Regions from separate parts of the Homo sapiens genome. Here region 2 is linked to region 1. Evidence: promoter capture Hi-C in human tissues and cell types (Jung and others, 2019). All regions are on one chromosome and are shown on one strand. Each heading gives the region's core, a stretch centred on a gene start or on the middle of the fragment in contact. The rest is flanking DNA. Distances are from core to core; before and after follow the strand shown.

The links. The method cuts DNA at HindIII sites, captures the fragments that hold promoters and counts their contacts. A contact is called where the count stands out against the background at its distance.
Region 2: a contact is called between the fragment with the promoter of GEM here and a fragment that was not itself captured in region 1, in 1 of the 25 tissues and cell types used here (hippocampus).

Annotation. Positions count from the first base shown.
Region 1 is chr8:93,729,994-93,735,752 of GRCh38, reverse strand. It overlaps CIBAR1 (CBY1 interacting BAR domain containing 1), which reads right to left. Exons shown (of 9, transcript NM_145269.5): 9 at 4,226-5,759. It overlaps RBM12B (RNA binding motif protein 12B), which reads left to right. Exons shown (of 4, transcript NM_001377960.1): 4 at 1-5,759. The coding sequence ends at 2,348. Among named protein-coding and RNA genes, the nearest start is that of RBM12B-AS1, 7.2 kb to the left of the region's middle. The HindIII fragment of the contact is 4,463 bases long and covers 1,077-5,539 here.
Region 2 is chr8:94,259,108-94,264,866 of GRCh38, reverse strand. GEM (GTP binding protein overexpressed in skeletal muscle) reads left to right here and starts at 2,548. Exons shown (of 5, transcript NM_005261.4): 1 at 2,548-2,777; 2 at 4,355-4,694. The coding sequence starts at 4,364. RefSeq lists silencers at 3,237-3,306, 4,448-4,591. The HindIII fragment of the contact is 10,611 bases long and covers 1-5,759 here.

The DNA.
Region 1 (5,759 bases), core at 2,059-4,558:
CAAGATTTATAGAAGTAATGCAAGGATCAGAACAACAGTGGATTGAGTTTGGTGGTAATGCAGTTAAGGAGGGTGACGTTCTTAGGAGATCTGAAGAACATTCTCCACCAAGAGGAATTAATGATAGACATTTTCGAAAACGGTCTCATTCAAAATCTCCCAGAAGAACACGTTCTCGTTCCCCTCTTGGATTTTATGTTCACTTAAAAAATCTGTCCCTCAGTATTGACGAAAGAGATTTAAGAAATTTCTTTAGAGGTACTGATCTGACTGATGAACAGATTAGGTTTTTATATAAAGATGAAAATAGAACAAGATATGCCTTTGTGATGTTCAAGACTCTGAAAGACTATAATACCGCTCTGAGTTTACATAAGACTGTTTTACAATATCGTCCAGTTCATATTGATCCAATTTCTAGAAAACAAATGCTGAAGTTCATTGCACGTTATGAAAAGAAGAGATCAGGGTCACTAGAGAGAGATAGGCCCGGACATGTTTCACAAAAATACTCTCAAGAAGGTAACTCTGGCCAGAAACTGTGCATCTATATAAGAAATTTTCCATTTGATGTTACAAAAGTTGAAGTGCAGAAGTTCTTTGCAGACTTTCTTCTTGCTGAGGATGACATTTACTTGCTTTATGATGACAAAGGTGTTGGTCTGGGAGAAGCATTAGTGAAATTTAAATCAGAAGAACAGGCCATGAAAGCTGAACGTTTAAACCGACGAAGATTCCTAGGGACAGAGGTGTTATTAAGACTTATATCTGAGGCACAAATACAGGAGTTTGGTGTAAATTTTTCTGTGATGTCCAGTGAAAAAATGCAAGCTCGCTCACAGTCACGTGAGCGAGGTGACCATTCCCATTTATTTGACTCAAAAGACCCACCAATATACTCAGTTGGTGCTTTTGAAAACTTTAGACATCAGCTAGAGGACTTGAGGCAACTGGATAACTTCAAGCATCCCCAGAGGGATTTCCGGCAGCCTGACAGGCACCCTCCAGAAGACTTCCGACACTCCTCAGAGGACTTTAGGTTCCCCCCGGAGGACTTCAGGCACTCCCCAGAGGACTTCAGGCGACCTAGGGAGGAAGACTTCAGGCGGCCTTCTGAGGAGGACTTCAGGCGCCCTTGGGAGGAAGATTTCAGGCGCCCTCCGGAGGATGACTTCAGGCACCCTAGGGAGGAGGACTGGAGGAGGCCCCTTGAGGAGGACTGGAGGCGGCCACTGGAGGAGGATTTCAGGCGGTCTCCCACGGAGGACTTCAGGCAGCTCCCCGAGGAGGACTTCAGGCAACCCCCTGAGGAGGACTTAAGGTGGCTCCCAGAGGAAGATTTCAGGCGGCCACCTGAGGAGGACTGGAGACGGCCCCCAGAGGAGGACTTTAGGCGGCCTCTTCAGGGAGAATGGAGGCGACCACCCGAGGATGACTTCAGGCGGCCCCCAGAGGAGGATTTCAGGCATTCCCCTGAGGAGGACTTCAGGCAGTCACCCCAGGAGCATTTCCGGAGGCCACCTCAGGAGCATTTCCGTCGGCCACCCCCAGAGCATTTCCGGAGACCACCTCCAGAGCATTTTAGGCGGCCTCCCCCAGAGCACTTCCGGCGGCCACCCCCAGAGCACTTCAGGCGGCCACCCCCAGAGCATTTCAGGCGCCCGCCCCCGGAGCACTTCCGGAGACCGCCCCAGGAGCATTTCAGGCGGCCGCCTCAGGAGCATTTCAGGCGCTCCCGAGAGGAAGATTTCAGGCACCCACCAGATGAAGACTTCAGGGGCCCTCCTGATGAAGACTTTAGGCACCCTCCTGATGAGGACTTCAGGAGCCCCCAGGAGGAAGATTTTAGATGCCCTTCTGATGAGGACTTCAGGCAGCTCCCAGAGGAAGACCTTAGGGAAGCTCCGGAGGAGGACCCTAGACTTCCTGACAATTTTAGACCTCCTGGTGAGGATTTTAGGAGCCCGCCTGATGATTTTAGAAGTCACCGCCCTTTTGTGAATTTTGGTCGCCCAGAAGGTGGCAAGTTTGATTTTGGAAAGCATAATATGGGAAGTTTTCCTGAGGGGAGATTTATGCCTGATCCAAAAATAAATTGTGGTTCAGGTAGAGTAACTCCTATTAAGATAATGAATCTTCCATTTAAAGCTAATGTGAATGAAATTTTAGACTTTTTCCATGGTTACAGAATCATACCTGATTCAGTTTCGATACAGTATAATGAGCAAGGCTTACCTACAGGGGAAGCCATTGTTGCTATGATAAACTATAATGAAGCTATGGCTGCTATTAAAGATCTAAATGATAGGCCAGTTGGGCCCCGAAAAGTTAAGTTAACTTTGCTGTAGAGAGAGAGCATTTCTAAATTCAGTTATCTTCCTTGCAGTATTGATGGAGTAAAATACATTTGTTTTAAAAAAGTGTTTTTTTTTTAAATTATCTAATGAAATATTTTATTTTTGACCTGTGAATAGAACAAATGTAAATAGTAGAATGTGAATCTGGTTTTCTTTTGCTTGCAAATTGCCATTCTTTTTTTTTTTCAAATTTAAAATTACACATGCTGTTTTTTTCTTTGATGGGGAGAAAGAACTCATTCCCTGAGTTCATTCATTTTTGTTGATGTCATCGGTAATCTTCAAGACTTATTGAAGTAGAGTTGTATTTGGGGAAGATACATTTTATATTCACTTTTTTTTTTCTTTCTGTAGTCTACCTCTTTTACTCAAACTGTATAAGGAAATAGTGACTGATTGTTCAGGTTTGGCATTTTCATTGCTACCTGCCTGCAGAATTAATGCCCTCTTCCTTGTCTAAGATATTACTGTGTTAAGTGTCCTGTTAATTATAAATAGTTCAAAATGGACAGACTGTCAACTTGAAATTTACTTATGTAAAAAGCTTAGGTGATTCTTAGGGTTTCCATGTTCATAACTTTACAAAGCTTTATAAAAATAAAATTGCAACTTAATAGAGCTAATTAACTTGTATTTGTATAAAAAGAAAAAAGAATTGCAGCTCGATATTGTGAAGTTTTTCAATAACTTCATTAAACCATATTTATGATGGGAGGGACCAGACATTCTATAGTAATAATGTATAGTGCTGTGTATAATTCCATGGTTTCTTCAACATCTTATCAACCAAGTAAAATTAATACAAGATACGCAAAAGATAGTAAAATAAGAATCTAATTATAGGTGCAAGGGGACTCAGGCTTATGCTGGAAGAATCTGACAAGTGGTATAGTTTGTTTTTCTAGGAAGAATTTACTGATGAGTCACATAACTTGCATGTAATATTAGGTTCTCATTTTTTAGCTTCGAAACTGTGTCCATGCAAAGACTCTATAACTGTTAAGACTTGTGTGGTTGAATTTTGACTTCTTTGATATTCAGCATTTAGTGCATACATTTTGCAACTAGGGAATTTGATTTTCTATACCCACAATAATATTTATGGCTAACATTTATTAGGCACTTACTATGTGCTAGGCACTGTAAGCACTTTACATGCATAATCTCGGTATTCCCTGTGAGTACAGGGTTAATTATTTACCTCTATTTCACAAATGAGATAATGAAGTGGGATGAAGTGCGAGGTTAAGCAACTTGCTTGAAGTCATAGGTAGTAAATCGTGGGGCCAATTTTAACCCAGACAGACCACTGACTCCAGTTCATGCTTTTGCTGCCTCACTTTTTTAAGTGGTATTTTTAATTAGGAAGACCATGCTAAAGATACTTTCAAGGATAAATGATTATTTTCTCACTTCAATTGTTGGTTTAAAATTAGCATAAATAGGTAAAACCAGCATGCTCAAACACTGAGCTCAAACATTAACATTACTAATAAAAAAAAAAAGAGTGACTTTAAAAGTTTCTTTCTATCCAGGGTTTCTCTTGGGATACTCATATGGTATATTACTGGCTTATATTTCAAAATTATTTTATTCAACATGATTGACTTTGGCCTTTTATAATTTACATAAAACATAATTTTCCTCAGTTCTGTAATCCAGATTTTCCCCATTGAGTAAATAATACAATTAAATTTACATATGGTAATTTAGACATTTAATAGGATATTGCATAGGTAGAATACTTTGTCAGTACTTAGTTACTACCTATATGTATTTTTGTGTTACTTTTCAGTGATTTAAAGAAATCTAACAGAAATCTGCTTAAATTTGTTTTAAATAGTGAATATCCTGCTTGCTATGGAATGAATAAACAGGTAAATTTGATATGAAAAAGCACCTCAGTATGATTCTTTAAAGTATAAGCTTGTAAGTAGCTAGGATAATGTTAAATTGATTGTTTGGAATATCCAAACCAAGCACAATGAAGAAAGTAGAAATGATATTTTTAATTGAGCAAAGATTGTATAGATGGTTCATTTGGTCACCCATTTTGAATAATATATGGAAAGTTAAAAAATGCTTCTCAGATACAAAGGAATAAAGCTAAGATGAAGCTTAACGTGAGGGATTACTTACTGTGGAATTGCATTTCAAACTGGGCTGAGGTGGGATGGTGGTGGTAGATAAGAGGCCAGCTAGAGTAAACATAAGCTTTGTAGTTTTATTATTTTAAGAGTCAGAGTCTTGTTCTGCTGGCCAGGCTGGAGTGCAGTGGTCTGATAATGGTTCACTGCAGCTTCTAACTCCTGGGCTCAAGCTGTCTTCCTGCCTCAGCCTCCTGAGAGCTGGGACTACAGGTGTGTGCCACCTTGTCTGGCTAAATTTTTTATTATTTGTAGAGACAGAGTCTCACTGTGTTGCCCAGGCTGTTCTCAAATTTCTGGCCTCAAGCAATCCTCACTCCTTGGTCTCCCAGAATGTGTTGGGATTACAGGTGTGAGCCACTGTGCCCAGCCTTGTATTTTGATTTTTAAATTAATTTATATGAATATTTCCTTTTACCCTATAATGTATCAGGGCTTAATATTTTTAAACTTCATTATAAAAAGTTGATTACAGAAAGTGGTATCTTCTAGTTGGGAGCCATCTTTGCACATCTCTCTCCAACTCTGCCTTTAGTGATATGTCAATAACAAATTGGCCATGGCAGGAGTATTTTACACCATGGAAAGTGATAAATGCAGCAAATCAAGGAATTCCCCTCCTGTTGTCCCCTCAGAAAGCCAGCTTCCCAGCACCTCATCAATTTCAAATATAAAAAAAGAATAGTAAATTTTCATGTACACATCACTCAGCTTCAGTAATTGTCGTCTCATAGCCAGTTTTTCCTCTCCTATCCTCAAGGTATACCAGGTACACTGGAGGTGTATTCTCTAGCCTGATACCCAGTGGCATTTGTCTTAAAGCCAAACATTTTTGTCTAGAAATTATCTAAAAAAATGTAGATCATGTCTAGAAAGTCAATCCCACAACCAAGAGATAGGTAAAAATCATGTTAGGAGTGCATTTCTATTAATTTACTGAGATCACTGTTAAGAGCAGTGATTCTTGATCCATATATCACCTGTTAAGTAGTGACCTTGCTGCCTCTGTTTTTGCAGTAAATATTAGCTGTTGTTTATTGAGCTGTATTAGATACTATATGATGTATAATTATGTATGAATTAACTATCATTTAATTCTGATAATCCTAGTAAATGTACTACAGGTTGAGTATTCCTAATCTGGTAATCTGAAATTTCACATGCTCCGAAAATCACAAACTTTTTGAGTGCCAACATGATGCTCAAAGAAAATGCTCATTGCAGCATTTAAGATTTCAGATTTTTGGGTTAGGAA
Region 2 (5,759 bases), core at 1,299-3,798, 530 kb before region 1:
ATCCCAGTGAGCTGGAATCCTGGTCGAGGGATCTGAGACTTGGCTAGATGAGATTTGGCGCTCAGATGTGCTTTTTGTGAAGTATAACTATGATTTTTCTCTAAATAATTACTCAAACTTAACTTTTAGTCAAGACTCTTCTTAAGTAGTGTTCTTGTTTGTGTTCATGTGGCTTCTTGTGAGACAGACAATTTAAAAAATTTAAAAATTGTTCTATTATCCAAACACAACATTGCTGTGTGCCCCTTCCCTTTCCCCAGTCCCTGGAGTTCATTTTCTTTTGTATGTTTCACATATACCAATGACAAATAGTTCATAGTAGATATTGCCTAGGTATGGAATTAGTTTTTTTTTTGTTTGTTTTGTTTGTTTGTTTTGAGATGGAGTCTTGCTGTGTCGCCCAGGCTGGAGTGCAATGGCACGATCTCGGCTCACTGCAACCTCTGCCTCCCAGGTTCAAGCGATTCTCCCGCCTCAGCCTCCTGAGTAGCTGGGATTACAGGCATCCACCACCATGCCCGGCTATTTTTTTGTATTTTTAGTAGAGACAGGGTTTCATTACGTTGGCCAGGCTGGTCTTGAACTCCTGACCTCGTGATCCACCCACCTCAGCCTCCCAAAGTGCTAGGATTACAGGCGTGAGCCACTGTGCCTGGCCAGAATTAGGTTTTTATAAATGTGAAGTATTAGATTCTTATCAATCGGCAAAAGTAGAACTGAGGAACTATATCATATGCTTATAAACTGATTTCTTCTTAGTTTTTACTCCTATGATGTTTCTGTTGAGACCAGTTGACAGAGTAGGAGTGTCAGTATGGAAAAAGCATGGATCATTTTGAAACATGGATTATTCATCAATTACATGTGTTTTAGAATGGAGTCAGTGATATACTCTTGGAGATGATCTCCCCCACCCCCCATCTCCTCTCCTTTTCCTTTCCCCACATCTGTAGCCACTTCCTGTCAGCGAAACCCAGAAGAAAAACTTGACAGAAGCAAAGGGCATCCAGAGAATTATGATCCCCAGGTTGTAGTTCCAGTTCTGTCATGTCCTAAGCGGTCATCTCCTCTCTGGGTCTCAGGTTTCTTATGTATAAGATAAGTAGGAGATTGGGGCCACAACACCTGAGACTAAAGGAATTCTAAGTTTTCATTACTCTATGGATTCCACCTTTGCTAGCTTGGGACCTGGCAGGTCTCAGCAGCTGGTCATGTAGCTAATTCTCAAAGCAGATAAATGCCTGCAGGATAACTGTGAATTGACTCTAATCACAGCAGAGTCCAGCTGCTTCAATAGATGCTGGTGCCTTTGGCTGCTTCCCGGAGCCACCAGCCAACCCAGAGTTGAAGCTGGCTGGAAAAGCAGATATGTTGGAGAGGCCAGCATCATCTCTAAACACAGCATCTGGGAAATACCCATGTCCCCAGAAAGAGGTCATTGAAATCCTTCACTTGGTGGTGCAGTGCAGAGACTCAGGAAAACCAGGCTTTGAGTCCTGACCCTGCCACTTATACCAGCGGTGTGACCTTGGGCAAATTCTCTGGCCCTATGTTATCTTCCTCCTCCATACAATGAGGGTAGAAATAGAGCCACCTTGCAGAAGTATAGTAAGGATTAAGGTCCCAGGAGGCCTAACAGTACCTACTAAGCAGAGGTCCTCAGAGGTACTTAATAAATGGTAGTAGTAGTTATTATCCTGTGCCCTTTGTTCACAGGAGTCTCTTACAGGGGTGTTGGTCTCAGTGCTCCTCCCCATGGCCAGGCTGTATTGGCTCATGCCCAAGGCGTAGCCTTGCCAGGGAGCCTGGTACAGAGATGCTGCTGATTGGGATGCTGATTAAATTCCCTGATTGAGGAGCCTCAGCATTCTGGCCCAGAGCAGGAGGGCCAGCAATATTTAGCACAATCTGCTTGGATCCTCAATTAAATTGTTTTTCCAAACTGCCCTTTTCAAGGTCTTGTCCTCTTTCCTCACCTCTTTCTGGCCCCTTCTCTCTGGGTCCTTGCCAGAGAAGGGAAACAAAGCCTTGTGGGGCTCCATCTGCTTCCCCCTATCCAGAAGAAGGTGACAAGGCTGTCTTCGTTGCAGAAGATGTGGTTAAAACAAGCCTTGGCTATTCAAGGTGGCTGCAGTCTCATCCTGGAGGCTAAAGTCTCTGCGCATTCCAGGTTGATCTCTGTTTTCTTGGCAAAACTGAGTTCTCAACTCAAACCTGCCTCTCCCTTCCATCCTTTATCCCGACAGCTCGCAAGTGCTTTGCTGGGAAGGACGATTAAGTGTCACTTAGTGTATTTTTCCATTTTCCTGTGTTCATCTGGTAAAAAGAAAATAAAACAAAATAAAGGAGGCCCAGGATTGAACTGTCATTATTTTTTAAATGGAGAGAGAAGGGGTCACATGACTGCGAGTAACTGATTTAGCCAAGTGGCTGCAACTCCGAGTTTGCTGCAGAGCCGCCCCCTCCCGGCGGGGGCGCTGACGTCACGGAAAAGCCCCGCGGCGGGTCGGCTGGGCTGGTTATAAACCGCCCGGCCGCGGCGGCTGCAGGCGGCGGGCAAGGACGGCGGGCACAGCGCAGCACTCCCCGCTCGTTGGCCCGGGTATCCCAGCGCGGACCCACGCGATACGCTGACGCCCCGACGCCGATCCGGCCGAGCCAAGTAAGGGGGACGGCCCGAGACGGAGAAGGGAGAGAGTGGGAGTTTCCCAGCCCGCAGAACTTTCGAAGTTGAGAAAAGAACCCCTGGAACGTGCGCTCAGCACTGGGATTTTCTGGTAGGGGTCAGAGCTTCAAGTGCAAAGGATGTCGCTTCTCATCAGCAGGTTCCTTAGTTCAATTCGGTAGAAGGGTCACCTCCCTCTACAGATCGAGTGGTCAGAGAGGGCAGCCCTTAATGATGCTTTATGTATTTGTTGTTTGAATGTAAGTCTGCCAACTGAGGTGCTGCTTTTGAGACTAAAAAACCGGCTGGTCGTCCTGGTTAGTGGCGAGATGTTGGGGTACGGAGTGTGGGGGTGAGGGTGGGAGAGGAGTGTTTGTGCATCTTGCTGATTGCAACGTAAGTACTTATACTTTATCACCAGTAGCCGGAAAAACAGACCTCCCGGCTAGGGGAGGCAGTCTGCAAAGGGAAAGTTGTAGAGAAGTTGTTGAATATCATTTAGGGGAGTCTTCAGCCTTCTGATTTGCTTCAAGAAGGGGATCTGAGAATGGTGGCTCAGGCCTGTGATCTCAGCACTTTCGGAAGCCGAGGCAGGAGGATCACTTGACCCCAGGAGTTCGAGACCAGCCTGGGCAACATAGTGAGGCCACTGTCTCTACCAAAAAATAAAAATAAAAATAAAAAAACTAGTGGACGTGGTAGTGCAGGTCTGTAGTCCCAGCTACTTGGGAGGCTGAAGTGGAGGATCTCTTGAGCCTGGCAGTTGGAGGCTAGCTACAGTGAGCTATGATCGTGCCACTGCACTCCAGCCTGGGTGACAGAGCAAGACCCTGACTCAAAAAAGGAATCTGAGTTGAATTAAAGAACTCTTGAGAATGGATGTGGTTTTTTAAGAATGAGGCACTTTCTCTGCAAATTTCATAGGTCTGAACATGAGCAGGTCATTTCTCTGCCAGGGTGTCTAGGTTTGGAGCCGGGATGTTTTAAAAGTGGTATCTGTGGGTAAGAGGGCACAGCTGAGGCATAAACTTTAAACAGAAAATTTCCCCCCTACCCCCAATAATGGCAGGTGGATGCTCTCCAGGCAGCTGGAGAGCATCAAGGCAACTTTACTAAACATGGAAGTTCCAATAAGTGCCTGTCCAGTCCAGCCAGGGTTGCAGTGGGCAGGGGAGGGGAGGGTGATGTCATTGCCACGTGTTTCCCACTGAGGCACAAAACCTGCTGGACACTGGTGCAATTAAGAGCCAAGTTTAGACAAGAGCAGCTAACCTGACCAGCTGGTCCCCAGCAACATTAACTTGTTGCTTTTCAAGCCATCTTTGGAGTCTGCTGGTTCTTTCCAGCTGCCTTTGTGCCAGCTCTGAGTGCAGCTCTTCTTTCATCCAAGTCTGCTTTGAGGAAGGGGGAAGCCCATGGGCAGTGGGTGATGTTAACCGTATTTGTTTTCCCATGCAAATGATAGTCTGCCTGAGGAGCTGGTTACTGACAGTGTGGGCAGCATGTGTGTGTCCAGTTGAAAGCCTGTCTTGTTGGGGTTTGGGGGACTGTTTAATTGGTGGTCTTTATGTTAGGGATACTTGCTTCTCATCTCATCTAATAAAATATTACTGATGACTGACCATGTATTTGAGCGGAGCTCTCACTCATGCTTACTAATGCTGCCATCTTGGCTGCTTTGCTCCCCAGGACTCAACGATGACTCTGAATAATGTCACCATGCGCCAGGGCACTGTGGGCATGCAGCCACAGCAGCAGCGCTGGAGCATCCCAGCTGATGGCAGGCATCTGATGGTCCAGAAAGAGCCCCACCAGTACAGCCACCGCAACCGCCATTCTGCTACCCCTGAGGACCACTGCCGCCGAAGCTGGTCCTCTGACTCCACAGACTCAGTCATCTCCTCTGAGTCAGGGAACACCTACTACCGAGTGGTGCTCATAGGGGAGCAGGGGGTGGGCAAGTCCACTCTGGCCAACATCTTTGCAGGTGTGCATGACAGCATGGACAGCGACTGCGAGGTGCTGGGAGGTAGGTGTCCCAGCCCCAGTGGGCTTCTTTCCACCAGGGGTGGCCCAGGAAGAAAGAGTGAGGGTGGGTGACTTATTTACCCACAGAGTTGGGAGCTGAAGTTAGGCATTTTGGACAATTGATGGGGGAGCTGAGTCTCTAGAAAAGCCCAAGCACAGGCTTTCGGGCAAGAAAATGAAAATGCTTGTAGACAGGACCAAAATCTGTTGATCCTGGGCCAGAAAGGGAATTCTTCAGATTCCAATTCTAAATGGGTTGGGGAAGGCTGATTAGAGAGGGCAGAGCCAGAGGGTCAGCGCCCCACTTGACTTCTGCTGACTCTGACTTGAACATTCTTCCCGGAACTCAGTATAGACACAGCCTTTTTCCATGGTTATACCTAAAACAAGCCAGTTGGAAAAGCTGTTAGGATGGCTTGATCAGTTTGCTTCCACCAATATTAGAAAGTTTTGTGGGTGTTAAATAGTTCAAAATCTGTATTTGAAATAGCATAATAATTTTTTAAAATGTGAAGTATAACAATGAAACTTTCTATAGAGTCTGACAGCTTTTCAAGACAATTTTCCCTGTACAATTTCATCTATTTATTGATTGGAGCCTGGCCTATTTCCAAAACTGTTTTGAGGTGACATTATCTCAAAATGCATGTATTCTTCAGCTAGGGGTAAAGCACAGCCCTATGTTCTGCTAAGTAATATGAGGATCCTGATAGCCAATGCCATCCATAAAGTGTCTTTCAGCCACAGCTTCAGTCTGAGCGTATGCGACCAGGGTAGTTATATGTCCCTATTTGCAGCTACAGAAATAAAGGAAGCACTGCTCAGTGTTTCCCCAAGTCACATGGTCTGTGTTCTGTCGCGACTCACAACTGAATCACAGAGTAGGGAGGTGTCTTAGCGATGACTCAGTTCTCCCCTGCATTGATGCATATTAATGTTATTCCTCACTACCCACAGCCCATCTCATCTGGAGGTTTTATTCTTCTTGATTGTCTCAGTGTCAAGGAGTTCACTGCCTCATGAGGCAGCTCAGGAACTGGGCTATAAATAATGACTCATTGTTGTA